Linked DNA regions of Homo sapiens: regions 1 and 2 are each linked to region 3. The links are contacts of gene promoters, found by promoter capture Hi-C in human tissues and cell types (Jung and others, 2019). All regions are on one chromosome and are shown on one strand. Each heading gives the region's core, a stretch centred on a gene start or on the middle of the fragment in contact. The rest is flanking DNA. Distances are from core to core; before and after follow the strand shown.

Region 1 (2,942 bases), core at 205-2,704, 83 kb after region 3:
TCCATAAGAGGGAAAATGCATGGAAAGCCAGTTTATGGAGCAGGAGGACGTGTTCCGTTTTGACATGCTTGACTCGAAGTGTTTTGGAGACACCCAAGAAGGGGACCCAGTGAGCGTTAGGGGAGGGTCTGTCATGCCCAGAAGAGAGTTATTAGCTCTCAGGTGGCAGCAGAAGCCAGGGGGTTGAACCAAATCACACAGAAAGATTGGATGCTGTGAGAAAATAAGGCCACAGATGAAGTCATAATGAATCCCAACATTTTATGACATGGACCCAGGAACAGAAGACCGCAAAGTGGGCTGGGATCTGTGAGCCCAGAAAAGCAACGTTCCACCAAAGTCAAGGGAGGCTGGAATGTCAAATTGGAGGTGTCTAGGAGTGTCAAATATTGCAGAAGGTGTTAAAAAGGACCGAAAAGTGTCTGCTGAGATTTGCTATCCAGAAGGTAATTAAAACTTGATGACAGTACTTCCAGTTGAGAATTAATTGCCTCCAAGTGTTATTCACAAAGATTCTGTGAGGCTGGATGGGCGGTGGCCATTCGTAAGGCTCATCTTTTAAAGAAGTTTAACATTGAAATTCTACATATCTCTGTTTCATAGAAATATGTATATATGTATAAAATCTCTAGTAACATCTTCGTTTTCTAGCCAAGTTATGTTTCAGTTCAATATTATTAAGATGTTATTTGTTTTTTACTTCCCTCCAAATTGAAGTGTGGTTAAAATTGGTGTGACGCATGTCAAGCTAGTGCCGATCACGTTTAGGAATTAGGCTCAGCTCTAAATGAGTAATGCTAATGTTTGTTGAAATCTTGAAGCCCTGACTTTCTGTTCAGAAGAAGAGCAGTGAACTCCATCTCCTCTTTAACTGTTTGGGCCACTGCTAGGGCCCTGCAGCCAGCAATCCCACAGTCTCTCCTGCTGGATTAAGTGGCGATGCCTGACACGGCCTGGTATTTGGGGTGGGGAGGTAGGAAATAATAAGGAGTGATTTCATTTGTTTCTACAAATTACAGCTGGTGTGCTGAGTCCTTCCTTGGGGCCTTGTGTCAAGGGCTCGGGACCCTGCTGGGGCAGGGGAGGCAGCTCCTGCTCAATTGCTATCAGTGATGAGTGTGACATGTGCAATGTACAAGTCCCCTAAATGTTTACATGCCATGATGAGGCATTTAAATAGGTAAAAAATTAAAATCTATACTTTTTCTGTCTTTAAAGCACAGCTCAAAATGGCCTCTGCAGAATAAATGGAATGAGCTAGGTGTGGAACTCCAGGCACAGCGGTCAATTAAGGGCTGTTCATTAACATTTCAAGCACTGCAGATAGGTGGGTCTTAGCAGCTGGAGTTAAGTAGTGTGTTCTGATAGATATTCCTATTGTGAATTCTTCATTGGTTACTATAATCTTTACGGAAGCCTAAACCACTTCTCAAATAACTTCACCTTACATTGTTCCAAAAAGAAAGAAAAGCTATCTATTCGAAGCTAGTTTAAAGAACAATTATTTGCCTGTGACCTGCCCTGGGAGTGTGCCTCTATGCTCAGCTCACGTGCATTTGCAGACACATGCCCACAGGCTGCCAGGATCTGAAATCCACAAATGGGTCCTTAAGTCATAACTGACGACAAATGTGTAACCAGATTAAAATCTCGCGACATTTCTTAAACTGCTTTTACTGTAGCTCTGGAAACGTTGGTTTCAAAAATCAGTCGTGTCACTGTCACTCTTGGAATTCGAGAGCCCAGAGTCTAAAAGCCAGAAAGGTTGTTCAGAGCTTGGTCTCTGGCCTCTAGAGCTTTCCCAACATGGGATGGGCACACGCCTCAGGCACAGATGACTTCACTCCCCAAAGACTGAACCAGAGAACTCCAAGGTTCAACTGATCATCTGCCTTATTTTATCCATTAGTCTACTTTCATTTGTTAGAAGAGACACAGTTTCTTTTTATCTCTGTCTTCTCCTGACTAATTCTATTAGATCAGCCCTCAAATACATCATGTGATTTGTACAGGGATATCATTTTTATTCTTTTTTTTTTCGGTCCCCTTTCACGTACCTCTAATCATTTTTATCCTTGAATGGCATAAGTCAAACTTTTGAATTTTCTAATAGAATGCCTTTTTTTAAATTAAAACTTGCCTTTTGACTTCCTATTTACTTATTTATTTTTATTGTTAGATAAAGCAGATAAAATGTATTGACAATTTAAAATTTTGAAAAACACAGTGCAGAAGTTTGGCCTCATGGACATATATTAAACCTGGGCTTTATTTCACATTTTTCAGCACATATGGAACAATTGAAATGATTTGATCTCTAGAAAAATGTTAAGAAATGTTAAATATTTTAATCATAAAGACTAACTTTGGCATTAATCATATTTTTAAATAGTATATTAGGTGACTTTAGATATTAAGAAATTTAAACTGAGCAATATTTCTAAATGAATATTTAGAGTTTTTTAGACTCAAAGTCAGTGACTTTCAGTAATTTAAAAACAAAAGTGAACATGATAAATAATAGCAACTCACACAGCGCTCTCTGGACTTTACCACCCACTTTGATGTAAACTGAGTAAAGCTTGTTAGAATCATGCTCAGAAAAGTTGGAAGCTTTGAGATTTTAAAAGTTTGAGAAAAAACTGAAAGTGGGTTTTCTCTTCAGTATTAATGCAAACATTTTCTGAGGCAGTTGTGTTTTTGACTGGAGTTGTAAGGACTTTACGGCAGGATGCAAACTTTAGGGGCTCCCAGGGCTGTTGGAGGGGGCAGTCTGCACCCTCCCTTCCCACAGGGTTCAGCTCCCATCCCAGCCTCTGGGGTCTCAAGAGCTATGGGCACAGAATCTTTTTCCCTCTCTGGGGATCATGTGGGGTGTGGGTGCTAACAGACTCCTCTGTGGGTTAGGAGTGGAGGTTTGTGGCATGAGCCAGCAGTCTCCC
Region 2 (3,303 bases), core at 371-2,870, 64 kb before region 3:
TTTACTACATACCTGGTACTTTACACCTACCTGCTTTGAAATTTTAATAATAATTGGAAAATGAGAGTTGGAAGTTTATTAGGTTTGACTGAAGTAAGTTGTCAAATGGCTGAGAAAGGGCCACCCCTAACAGATGCGCCAAGCATATTATACTGAGAAGTCCCACTTAGGTATACGTTGGCTGGGGAGAGTCCTGGCGTTCATTCCTTCTCCCGCGTAGCCTTATGGGTCTCTTCAGAAAACACATGGTGGCGCTGCCTGCACGTGCCTTTACAAGCTGCAAGCCGTCCAAACAAAAGTGGTTAGTTTCTGCCTCTTGGGATTACAGTCAGATTCTGGCAACATTTCGCATTCATAACTGAACTTTCCACATAAAAGCGATCTCTCTCACTGTTTTGTACACAAAGTGAGGCAGCATTGTCCGAGTACAGTAATGTTGGAAAGAGATGAAGCATTGTAAATGTTTAACAACAGATCTCTGTTAAATCCACTCTAACGAACACAACCGTTTTGATGAATATTATTTTTAAAGAGAGAGAAAAATACAGATCTTCCTTTGCAAGCTATCTTTGAATAAAAGATAAAACCAACACACTGAATTGGCTTAGTGGAAACCCGTCATGTATTTCATTAGACCACTTGCAGATAGCCTAGTGCCAACCTATAAATGTTCTCTCTTGAAAACCACATCCCATAGATATACAGCAATCATTTTCTTTCAAGGAGGATATATTCACGCAGTTACATTTTGTACAAATATAAAGTAGGCAAAATTGAAAGAATACAACATAAAACATGACTCATTAATGAAGTTTGTGAATTACTCATTCACAAACTGCATTAATGAATTTTTTTAAATAACATGTCTTCCAAATTAAGAATTCCTCAAGAAGTGCACGTTTGGAAGCTGCCAGGAATAAAGAGCTGTGGACTGGGTTTATGCTATTCATTCTTTAGGCACTCATTCAACAAGTATGTGTGGAATGGTTTCTCCATGCAGGCACTGTTCTAGGCTCTGGGAGACAGCCCTGAATGCAGCAGGGATTCACAGAGCTGACATTCTAGCACAGGGCATATGGGTGGGGTTGTGGAGTCCAGTAGGAAACTGGCTAAGGCGGTGTAGACACAGTGCTAGAGGGGGTCAACACTCAGGAAAACAAAGCAGGATGTGGGAATGGGAGGGCACCCGTGAGTGTGGGGTGAGTTTCTTCACCAGGTAGGTGACAATGAAATAAAGCTCTGAAGGAGTGGTGGCCTGAGACCTGGGATATCTGGACAAAGATAGTTGCCGATAAAGAAGGAATAGCAAATTTGTGAGGCAGAGTATGCGGGCGCCTGGCCCCACATTCCAGGGGAGAATGGGGAGGTGACGAGGTTGCAGGGGCCAAGGGTGACTTGGCTAGAAAAGCAACACATGACTCCCTTTGTGAAGATTGGATTAAAATTATGCAATGGTTGCATTAAGTTTGAAAATCTTCAGGGACACATTTCTTGCAACTTCCCTCTACTCGTGTAATTAGAAATGAATAAATGTTAATAAGGAAGCTGAAAAGGCTCTAATGGTCTAGAACGTTATATAAAGCTTACTGGAACATGACGTTCTCAAAGTGTACTAGGATTGCAAAAGCAGCCACAGGACCCTTATTTTCCAGATTCCTGTGGAGCTGAGGAGGAGGAATCACAGCCTAATGGAGGGACACATGGCAAAGGAGCATGGAGCTGTGTGCTAGCAGGTGCACAGCGGGGTCATGGCCACTGTTGTTCAGTGGGGCCACCAGATCACAGATGAACACTGCAGCCGTTTCACATGTGACTGCCCTCATCCTTCATTTCCTATCCCCCACTGCGTGGAGCCCTTGGGTCACAGTTACGGCTGGAGGAGGCTGTGGATTCAGAAACGCAGTTGTGGATAAGGAAAGGTTTAGCACTGCCCACAAATGAAAAGAGACCTTCCAGATTTAGAGAAAAGGAAAAAAGCAAACAAAACAAAATAAAAACCCTCTTTTCTCCAGCTCCCAACATAATCAGAGATGAAAGAAGACAGTTTTAGCCTGGTAAATAAGAAAATAAACAAGAGCTTGAAATGGATAAGTTTTTTCTTCTAAATTTGTTTTTGCAAAGGGTTTTTCTTCCCTGAAAAACAAAATACTAAAATAGCAAGTTGTGTTTTCATTTATAAATCCTTCTCAAGAGGAAATCTAATAATAACAAGGGGTTTCCATTGGATTCCAACTTATTTCATAATGTAAATATATTTCTATCCTCTGGGGAAAAAAGCTTCCCCAAGCCAGGTATTTATCGTTTAAATTTGTGATTTTATTCACTTCCATTTTTCCCTCTCTTTTACCTTGAACAGCCTCTCAAACTGAAGAGGAGTGTTCAGTTCTACAGCTTATTAGATAGGGCCTCTTCATTCAACGATGCAAAGTTTAGAAAGAACGTGGACGATGACTTGCTATGTTTTGTTCTACATCCAATCAGAAGAGTAGCTTGTGGCTCAAAAAGTCTTATCTTAGAAGATCAAATGTCCACATTTTAAGAGAGCGGGGCTGTATACTAGAAAGAAAAATGGATTAGAGTCAGTCATACTTTCAAACCTCAGCAGTATTTCTTATGTTATTTAAAGACATATATTATCTGGTTTCTTTGAGCTTCAGTTTCTTCTCCTATAAAATGGGAAGAATAATAATGTGGTGGATTAAAAATGGCAGCCAAATCTCTGACCCTCTTCCATTGAGAGGGGGACTCTGTCCCATCCTCTTGAATGCAGGTGGGTTTTGTGACTGCTTTGACCAAAAGAACAAGGATGTGATACTGTGCCAGTCTCAGGGCCCAATCTTCAAGGCACAGGCAGCTCCCACTTCCCATCTCTCAAAACATGAAATAGCTCTTGGAACCCTGAACAGTGCAACTCCCTTGAGGCTGCCATGATGTGAGGAAGCTCAAGCCACCCCGGTAGAGGTCTATGAGCAGAGAAGCAATGGCCAGCTGCCCCGCATCTCCCAGCTGCAGCCATTAGAGCCGTCCCAGCAAAGCTTCCAACCGTGAAGCTGAGTGGAGCTCCTCTGACTGTGCCCTGTCCAAATTTTCCATCCACATCATCAGGAGATACAATAATACTGTTTTAATCCATTGAGCTTTGAGATGGCTTGTTAAGCAGCAATAGATAAACATACTAAATGCTTATGTTGTGGAGCTACTGTCAGTTTTACAAATAATACCTCCAAGGCGCCTACACAGAATGGACACATAGGGAACATTCAGTAAATAGGAGCCATCATTTGTACTGTTGTTCTCATGATC
Region 3 (3,351 bases), core at 88-2,587:
AGCCGTGAAGTCATGCTGTTGAAACGTCAGGTGTCTGACCATTAGGGACAGTTTGCTCAGGACATCCACATCAACACGACGTGATCTGCCACGGCTTGTCAGGATTATGAACCCGACGCGCCATAAAACCTGCCTTGTCCACCCCAAAGAAATTCTGTCTTGGTGTTTTCAGCGCAATTTCTGGAACCCGCTGAAAGGGCTGATGTTCTCTAGCTAAAGGTTTACTAGAACCCCTGGGGAAAAGTGGCACTGGAAGCCCAGGAAATGGGACGTCAAGTTGGGGTGCACATTGGGAGACTGGTAATAATGATTAAATCTTGGCTAATAGGGGTCCCCTGTTTCTTAAAATTACACCCAGAGAACGCAACAGTCCACTTGGGAGAAAACCCCACAACCCCGCCTCAATCGCGAGGCAAAGTGCAGGCAGACAACAAACACTAGTTTTCAGAAGGCAGACAGACGTGTCTTTCCCAAATGATCAGTTTCTCTTTCCACTCTCCTAAACGCTTGGAACACATCAAGAGCCTGCTGCATTCTGGCATTTTGGAAAAAGGCTCGCAGAGCCGGCGATTTCATGGCAGTGTACAGTTGGAAAATCCAGCAGAGCGGACGAAAGTTTCCCTCGGACTGGATGCAACGGATTCTGGACATAAAAGGTGTCTGCGTGGGAGAGCTTCCACCCTTCCAAAAAGAACAGTCCCGCAGCAAAGAGCTCCGGGCGCCCTGGGGGAGAGCGGTCCCAAGCCTCGGAAAGTGGGCAGAGCCCCCTCTCCCAGGGCTGAGACGGCAGGCGCGGGGCTCCCCTCGGACCCGCCCCGCCAAGGGGACAGTGTAGGCCGTGCCGCGATCCAGACCCGACGCCTCCGCGGGCTCCGCGGCGCCCGGGCTGCCTCCGCCGGCTGGGAGCGCTCGAGTGGCCCTCGGGAACTCACCGTGAAGCAGGAGGGCCGGGAACAGGTATCTGAGCAGGAGGCGGCGCGGCCAGGACATTTCCAGTCCTGCTCTGGGGCCTCCCGCACGCCGCGCTCCGATTTGGTGCCCGGGCAACTGGGCGCGCGCTCTGCCCTCCGCCTCCGGCCGGGTGCGGCCGGGCCAGGCCGGGGCTTCAGGCGGCTGCCGCGCGCCCCATGCCCGGCGGGCTAGGCGCGGGGCTGCGGGGCGCGCGCTCTCTGGGCGCCGTCGGGCGGCTGTGGGCGCCCCGGCCCGGTCCGCGTCCCGGCCTCTCTGCCGCCCGCCCCGACTTCTCCGCGCCCGGCCCCGCGTCCCGCCCCGGCCGCCGCGTGCGCCGCTCTGAGCTGCAGTGGCCGCCACCGCCACCGCAGCTGCAGCGTCTCTTCATATTTCCAGCGCGCCGCCGGCCGGGCAGCCTGGCCGCGGCACGGAGGAGGGGCCCTGGAGGGGGCGGTCGGGGGAGGCGACGCCGAGCCACCGCCCCCGGGCAGCCGCCGCCGGGGGGGAGCGCGGAGACTTGAAAGGGCGCGTCGGGCAACGCCTCCCCTCCTCCCACTCCGGGCGCCCCTCCTCCCCCCGCTCCCCTCCCGCTTCCCTCCTTCCCCTCTCTCGCCTACCCCTCCTCTTCCAGCTTCCTACCCCTTCCATCCTCCCCTCCTCCTCTCCTCCCTCCAGGCCCCTCTGCCTCCCTCTGGCTCTGCGCACCCCTTTCTCTCCTCCCCGTCCCCCATTCCGGGCGCGCTTCCTCCTTGGAGGGGGTGGGAGCCTTTGGCCCCGCACCCCGCCCGCAAGGAAAGAGAATGCGCGGGTCACCCTTCCGCCTCCGCCCACTCCCCTGGGGAAAGGTGTTCAAAGGGGGTGCGGGCGGCGAGGCTGGAGGCCTGGCGTGGGATCCAAGCAAAGCGGCCTGCTGAGCCGGGGTGTGTGCCAGCGCGCAGCCATGGGAGAGAGGGGAGACCAAAGAGAGAGTCCTGGAGGGTTGCTGGGGGTGAGGATGCGTCAGTGCTGGGCCCCCTCGTGGGTGCGGTGCAGGTCTTCACTACAAATCGCCTACCCCGGCCCAGTGCCTGGCTCCTCTGGGGAGCACGGAGAACCTTGTCATAGGCCCCAACCTGGGAAGGGCACGGTGTAGGAGGCAGGAGCCCGTTCACTTTTTCCTCCCCCTTCCACTAGGCAAATGACTTGTTGAAACGGGAGAAATCTCCGAGAAACGCTCCCTGTCAGTCTAAGAACGTGCACTTAGGCCCCTTCGCCGAGTCCTCTTCTCTTCCAGAGCAAATTGAATCACCACAATCAAAGCTGATTTTATTTGTGTTCGCGGTCTTGTGGGGGAGGGGGGACTACATGGGCGTTTGAGACCCAAAGGCAGGAAGAGTTTCCCCTGGGGTCCTTCGTTCTCCAATGCGGGTACAAGGCAGTGGCCATCTGATTTACCTGGAAGGTCCCTCCTCTGCCAAGGGCCTGCTTGAGCCCTTCCCCTCTTCCAGCAGTTTTCCCCCTCCTAAGGTTAATGTCACCTCTTCTCCACACTAGGATAAAGAGCAGACAGGAGACCCAGTGGAGTCTAGAGAACATTTCTTGACGCAACCGTTAGTGTTTTTCATTTAAAAAAAAGATTAAAATAAATGCCTGATTTCCCAAGAGAATTCTCTGCCCCTTTGAACAATGCAATAATTCAACTCCTTATGTGTTAGACTTTCAAAAGTAGTTGGATCTTAGCAACGGTATAATAGTAAAATAGATGAGAATACATTTGACAGTTTCCACTTTTCTTTTTTTTTTTTTAACCTGAGAAATCCATGGGTGTTTTGATGTGATAGTGCTGACGCTGTTTGATGTGTCTTAATTTTTATCACCATCATTATCATCTTTCCATCATTAATACAGAGGATCATAAGATGTACCAGCTGCTCAGCTCACACGGATGTTGTGAAGATTAATGTGCTCCTGTTTGCAAATCTTGAAGATGAAAGAATACCTGTGTGGGCAAAAAGAAGATCATGAAAACGATGCCTATGAGCGCAGGCATTATTTTGTGTTAGTCTTGCTCTGCCACATCTTTCTGAGCCTGACTTTGTACCTGATCGTTCTCTCATCCCAGTTGCTAGGCTTGGGTAGCAGACTATGATTTGTAAGATTTGAATGTTTGCCAAGGGCCAATCAAATTTTCATTTTAAACCAAGAATTTGACTTCTTCACGAATGTTGGGCAGTTGGAAACGATGTAAACAGCATACTTGGTTGGTTATGCAGAACAAAAGCCTTGTCACCAAGAACACATATGAAGTGGTGTTTAGTTTTTCAATGTCTTTTAGTCATTTGATGCCTTTTAGTCCATCAAAGAATATTTGAAACAAGCAAATGGCTAAGAGAGTGTTAGGGGTGGTGCATTTTTGTATAA

The links. Contacts are between HindIII fragments. The study calls those that stand out against the background at their distance.
Region 1: a contact is called between a fragment that was not itself captured here and the fragment with the promoter of APCDD1 in region 3, in 2 of the 25 tissues and cell types used here (lymphoblastoid cells and mesenchymal stem cells).
Region 2: a contact is called between a fragment that was not itself captured here and the fragment with the promoter of APCDD1 in region 3, in 6 of the 25 tissues and cell types used here (IMR-90 fibroblasts, adrenal gland, dorsolateral prefrontal cortex and 3 more).

The regions. Positions count from the first base shown.
Region 1 is chr18:10,369,731-10,372,672 of GRCh38, reverse strand. LOC105371986 (a long non-coding RNA gene) reads left to right here. Exons shown (of 3, transcript XR_001753347.1): 1 at 1-446; 2 at 1,219-1,327. Among named protein-coding and RNA genes, the nearest start is that of LINC01254, 43 kb to the left of the region's middle. The HindIII fragment of the contact is 3,061 bases long and covers 1-2,942 here.
Region 2 is chr18:10,517,229-10,520,531 of GRCh38, reverse strand. No RefSeq gene overlaps it. Among named protein-coding and RNA genes, the nearest start is that of NAPG, 7.1 kb to the left of the region's middle. The HindIII fragment of the contact is 4,990 bases long and covers 1-3,303 here.
Region 3 is chr18:10,452,621-10,455,971 of GRCh38, reverse strand. APCDD1 (APC down-regulated 1) reads right to left here and starts at 1,337. Exons shown (of 5, transcript NM_153000.5): 1 at 933-1,337. The coding sequence starts at 990. The HindIII fragment of the contact is 8,431 bases long and covers 1-3,351 here.